Regions from separate parts of the Homo sapiens genome. Here region 1 is linked to region 2. Evidence: promoter capture Hi-C in human tissues and cell types (Jung and others, 2019). All regions are on one chromosome and are shown on one strand. Each heading gives the region's core, a stretch centred on a gene start or on the middle of the fragment in contact. The rest is flanking DNA. Distances are from core to core; before and after follow the strand shown.

Region 1 (2,951 bases), core at 376-2,875, 340 kb after region 2:
TGAAGTAATATGATACCCAGCTTTATAAGACTAGCATCTGTAATTAGTAAAAAATACAAGCGTTCAGTAAAGTTGGAGATTTTGGGGCTGCAGCTGCTCTAGAACAGAAGTCCTCAACCTTTTTGGCACGAGGGACTAGTTTCATGGAAGACAATTTTTCCACGCACGGGGTCAGGGGGATTGTTTCAGAGCCATGAGATTCTCATAAGGAGCGCGCAACCTAGATCCCTCGCATGCACATTCTCGCTCCTATGAGAATCGAATGCCACCGCTAATCTGACGGGAGGGAGCCCCGGCGGTAATGTTTGACTGCTGCTCACCTTCTGCTGGGAGGCCCGGTTCCTAACAGGCCACGAACTGGTAGTGGTCCATGGCTTGGGGGTTAGGGACCCCTGCTCTAGAATATTCTCTCTCATTCTTTCCCTCCTACCTTCTCCCCACCCCCTTTCTCTTCCTCTTTCTCATCGTTCTTTCCCCTTTTTCCTTGTTTCTTAAAAGGATGTGGGGCAACTTATAAAAATATATAGCATGTAACAAGATAAAATATAATTAAATATAAGTAGGTCAAGCAATTGAATAAAAGATTGAAAAAAATAAGATGAAGCCAGAGTGAGATTAGTAAACTGAATGAACCAATGGATGTTTTAAAAACTTCTAACATTTTGCTAGGAGTACAGTCTAAATTGAGACCTAAAATTTAGAGTGGCCAACACAGAGTCATGGTCAGTTACACAAAATAGTGTCTGTTCTTTGACGATATCTGTAAGTAGATGAAAAGTCTGATTAATGTATGTCTATAGGGGTTAGTTGAAGGTTAGCACTAGTTACAGGGGTTCCTTTTTTCTTTTTTTCCTGCTTTGGTTTGTTACATATGCAGATGGCTTGAAGTATTTGCTGATAAAAGTATGTTCCCCAGGGCTACTTCTGGACCTGGGTCTTCCAAGCAACTCTGCCTCCTTGCATTTGCAGAAATTTCTATTATTACTATTTCAGGTTGTTTCTAAGCCAGGCAAATTGTTTACTTATCTTTTAATGAGCACTGCCTCAGTCATAAGCATAGCAGAAGGTAGAGGAGAATGACTCCCTCTTAACATGACTTTTCCAAGAGGGAGAATAATTATAGTTCTTAGAAGTAGGAAGAACTCTGGCTATGAAAACTGAAAATTTTTTATTACAACAACATTAAGCCTATTACTGCCATATCCAGTAAGCCTTGAATCTCCCCTCCCTTTAATTGGTAGTTATTTTAGGAGTATAATCGATATGCAGAGTTGATTGTATTTAAGAAAAGTGGATCACAACCTTCAGTTTGATCAATAGCTCCTTTAGAGCTTTTTAAAAAGTCCATATTCCCAGGCTATATATCTAGAGACTCTGAATTAGGAGGTCTAGGTCTAGGAATCGGTATTTTAATAATACTTGATAAAGGATTCTAATAAGTTGTGGGTTAGAAATTTGCTGTTTTAGACCTCATTGTATGACTGACATACCACTTCGAATGCGGAGGAGTCTGCTGAACCAAAGGTTATCCTTTAGTAAACCCAAGTCTAGAAGGTAGGCCAATGGTGGGATTCTGGCCTTATTGAGTCCCCACCGATTTGCAGTATTGTGTTGTATGCAGTCTGTAAGCATCCCAGGTGGTGTGTGCTGGGCTTCCAGATTTGCTTTTCTTCATTGCTGAAGTGAGAGGCCCCGTGGCACCTTGGAAAGCATGTTCAGCCTTGGAGTCTGGAGTCCTGAGCTCAAGTTCTGTCTCTATTATGTATTAATTCTGTAATTGGAAACAAGTCAAGTAGCATTTCTGAGTTTGCTTGCTTTTATAAGGGAGATAAAAGTTACATTTTCTATCTCCTAAGGTTGTTGTGAGGGTTCTGTCATATAACCCATGAAAGTGATTTGTGAACTGTCAAGTGATCTGTATATAGAAAGAATTATTTTTAATGAAATGTTTTCTCATCAGTGAATTGACAGTCTCTTGTTGATAGAGAAACTACAGTCATGTGTGGGTTTTCTGGCTTGTCATTTCACAGCCAGCACTGCAGTGGTGGGGTAGTAGAACTATGTAGGAATATCATAGAGGCTGTATCAGGGGTTAGCAGGACCAGAATAGCTAGGGGCACCACAAAATCTCAAGGACTGAGGCAGTTACCTACTGTCTGATCATCCCCAGCTTATAACAACTCCTCCTTCTCTGAGAAATGCAACTGGACACCAGTATATACACCATCTGGGCTGCTTCCTATATATCTAGGGATAGTCCATGACCCAACCTAAACTGAACCAAGCAGATTCTTCAAGAAGAAACTAGTCCTGGGTCATTAAGAGCATTGAATTGAGAATCCACATAGGATCCTGGATGTTTGGAAGGAAGAGTTGAGAGTCAAAGTGTGGATCATTCCTGACAAGAGTTTCTCAAAGGGCATACCTATTCAGAATCTTTTTTTGCCATAAATTGTTGGTAGGCACAGCTTTTCCAGTGATTGAAAAAAATCTAAAATCTATGAACATGTCTTCATGCTGAGAGAAACATTTGCTCTTGTGTTGGTCATTTCCAGTAGCTTCTGAAAATAAGATCGAGGGAAAAAGATACCTGTTTGTGGCTAGTTTTGCTAAGTTCAGGGTCTAATCACCTTAGGAAGCTGTATGATGACCAATCATACCAAGGTTGGAAAGGAGATAGAAGTAGTAGCTATCCTGTCCCAGCTGTATCTCTCATTCCCTGCTGTTTGAGGGAAAATTGGGCCAATGATAGTATATCCCAAACAAATGGAAATAAAACTAAATATCACTAGTTTTATAACTTCGAGGATTCAAAATCCTCAAAGGAGAATTGAGGAGAGCTGATCTTTAGTATTTGCTTTCCTCTTGGTTCTCAGCACCCATTGTTCCCAGGATGCTTTCTGGCTGACTGCATCCTTTCCTTCTCCTCCCTAATCCTGACCCGACCTCTC
Region 2 (3,281 bases), core at 224-2,723:
TTTATCGTGTCACTTTTTGTCTGTCCTTCAAGAGGACAGAGAAGAAAACACAGAAGACACAAATAATTCAAGGCCACGTGCATGGGAGCAGGGCAGCCTGCTAAGTTCTGCTTTCATTCCTTCCCTAAACATTCATTCCCTGAAGTTGATAGGCGCCTTCGGGATTAGAGCTTCAACTGTGGTCATCGAAGCCCACCAGGACACGACCACAGACCACGGATTGGCTCCACGGTTCTCTTCCTCCCCCAACCTTCTCCTCAGTGCCACTATTGGGAGCTCTTTCTGTGTCTCCAGGGGCTCTCAGATAACCAGGGTCCCAGGTGAACTCCCGACAAACACAGGTGCACCATGTCGTTTGCATGGGTGTCGCTGGCCCCCGCTGCTGGGGCAGGCTGGCCTGCTGCTTGGTGCAACACCCATCAGTCACTTCTGCCAAGGCCCCTACTCTGTCCTGACCCCGGTGGGGGCCATGGGGTTGGGGGAATGGGACTGGGATAGGAGATGAACATGACAGCTTTTAGGAAGAAGATATCTTGGTTTCCTCTGGAAAAATCCTTCCATTTCTTTAAACCCACCACAAGCCACTTTGAGGGACTGCCTGAGCGCCCCATGTTCCCCTACCGACCTCCCCTCTTTGCCCTCCCACTGACTCCCAGACCCCCGGTGGGCGCAGGTCGGTACTCACGCTGCTGGGGTGGAGGACGGGCAGAGGCAGCAGCAGGAGCGGGACGCAGACGACCAGCAGCAGCTTCCGGACTCGGAGCAGGCCCTGCAGCAGGCCCATCGCGCCTCTGTCCTCTCCAGCTCGTCCTTGGACCCCGCTCTGCCGGCGAAAGGCTTCCTGCCTGGGCACTGCTCTCTATCCAGAAAGACTTCTTAAACCTTTCTTGGCTTCCGAGAGTCCTCCTTCGTCTTGGGGGCAGAACGGGAGGGCAGTTATACCCTCGCTGTTTCTACAAGAGGCTGGGCTCCTGGCCTCCTGCTTTAGGTGGGATTGATGAGCATCGTTTTGTGACCAGCAAAAAGGAACTGGGAAAGGATGATAAACGGGGGCATAGTGGGCCTCCTCTCGGCTTGATTAGTAATAGAGTAACTTCATTCTAGGTGTCAGCAGAAACCCCCTTAATCCTTTAAGCCACACCTTTGCTGCTGCTGCTCGGCCTTGAAGAAATCATTTAAAAGCTTAAAAACATTAAAAACGCTCAGAGCACATTGTGCTCTCCATCAGTTTTCCTCCCTCGGATGACCTATTTTGGGGAGTACCTGTTTCATCTCCCACCTGGGCTCGCTGTTGGTAAGACTCTAGTAGCCCCTTTCCTTAAAACAAGCACCTGAGCTTGTCAGAGTTGCATGCGGACTTCAGGTGGGGCTGCTGGTCGCTCCCAGGACGTGGTACCTTAACTCTGTTCACATGTCTTTCCCTCAAATTGGTTCCCTACTTATAATTTGCCTTGAGCCTGGGCCTGCAAAGCAGAAAAGAAAAGTCCCCAAGACATTCCTTTTTATCAAAGGACAAAACTTGCTGGAGGCCCACCTTTAACTTTCATCCACCAATGGGAAGCCGGGACAGAGACAGTAGCTCCGCCCACTTCTCAAAGCCAATCAGCAAATTGAAAAGAATGAGTCAATTTCTCTCCCCGCGGCCGCTCTTGATTGGTCACAGCGGGGGCCTGCTGATTCCGCAGAACCTAGGCAGCCTGCTAAGCTTATTTTTCAGTTTCTCAAACTTCCTAGGGCTGGAGTGATGACCATCATCGTAAACATAATCTCACGTACCCAAGCACAGCTTTATTGTTTCGGATCATAGGACACAGAGCTTTCGCTGGGAGGGCCACCTGCTGATCTAGACCTTGGGAAGGGAATGTGCCTGGTGGCAGGGAGAAAATGCAACATTACTTCTGGAGAATTTGCCTCAGAGTGTACAAAGTTAAGCCTTTCAGACCTCCCTGCTGGCAAAGATCGTTTGCCTCAGCACCGAGGGGGGAATATAAAGGGTCTAGGCCAGCAGAGGGTATGAGCTCGTGAGAAAGACCCCAGATCTTTTGGGAAGTATAGCTGCCTCCCTGGCAAAGTCTAGATGCCAGTCTCATGCCCAGATGTCAGTGGTCTCTCTGGCTAAAGTAGGTGCTCAAATGCTTCTCTCTGGGGCTCTCCAAAAAGGAAACCGAAGACCTTCTTTGGCTGGTACGAAAGGAGGAGGTGGGAGGGCAGGGAAGAAGTTGACAAGTTCAGGGACAAGGTCTTAGCTGCAGTTGAACTCTGGAATTTCTCCTGTTTACAGATTGGAAGAAGTTGTTAGCTTCTTTTCTCAGAACGGACATGTGGATTTGGGGCAAGGAAGAAAAGCAAAAGCAAAAGCCCAAACATTCTGTAAGTAGTGGTTCTTGGCAACATTACCTTACCTTGATCTGGGAGATGCTGAGCAGAGTCAAAGGGTTATAAAACCCATGTTGTCTTGAATTCACAGAACACAGGAATGGCGTTCGAAGATCTGCAACTATACTACTTGGAAATGATCCCCAGGCTAAAGTGACCAGGGAAGTGACCCAAAAAACAAATTCTTCTTGACTTTTAAGGCAGGTGCAACTGTGGACAGCTGAGGTCCCCTTTGAAATTATCTTGCCATCGTAGGATGGGCTAGGATGACTCAACTCTTTAAATGCATGTTAAAGACTGGCTACTGTATTTACTACATTCTGGCCTCATTTTTTTTTGGTTATGATTTTGAAACTCAGAATGAACAATACCACGTGTGTGATGTTTTGGTCGCAAACATTAAAGACAGCGAATAATTATAAGCAGCTGTGGAAGTCAACATCCACTGTTAAACCCATGAACCATTCCAAATTCCTCGGTGAGATACTCTGAGATAACAAAGATTCCAGTGAGCAACTCAATCATGACATCTTTATTATACCATAGATGAATATTTGTTAAATAAAAATAGGTACAGCAAGTGTACAATAAGACCAGTAGTTCTCCTTCAGAACTCTACCCATTTTTCAGAGGAAGGAAACACTTTTCCAGAATACAATGCTCAAGAAATGTAAGCCAGATCCCGCTTGTATGAGGTATCTTAAGTAGTCAGACTCTCAAAAACAGAAAGCAGAATAATGGTGCCAAGAGCTGGGGCAGGCAGGGGGAAGGGGAAAAGAGGAGTTGTTCGGTGGGTATAGAACTTCAGAATTACAAGATGAGAAAGTTCCGGGGGTCTGTTTCACAACATGCATGGAGTTAACACTGCTGTACCATATGCTTAAAAATGGTTAAGATGGTACATT

Evidence for each region. Contacts are between HindIII fragments. The study calls those that stand out against the background at their distance.
Region 1: a contact is called between a fragment that was not itself captured here and the fragment with the promoter of SLC13A4 in region 2, in 1 of the 25 tissues and cell types used here (dorsolateral prefrontal cortex).

The regions. Positions count from the first base shown.
Region 1 is chr7:136,066,689-136,069,639 of GRCh38, forward strand. It overlaps a transcript of LOC105375523 not described here. Among named protein-coding and RNA genes, the nearest start is that of MTPN, 91 kb to the left of the region's middle. The HindIII fragment of the contact is 4,318 bases long and covers 1-2,951 here.
Region 2 is chr7:135,726,713-135,729,993 of GRCh38, forward strand. It overlaps SLC13A4 (solute carrier family 13 member 4), which reads right to left and starts at 1,474. Exons shown (of 16, transcript NM_001318192.2): 1 at 686-1,474. The coding sequence starts at 784. It overlaps FAM180A (family with sequence similarity 180 member A), which reads right to left. Exons shown (of 4, transcript NM_205855.4): 4 at 2,880-3,281. The HindIII fragment of the contact is 3,336 bases long and covers 1,444-3,281 here.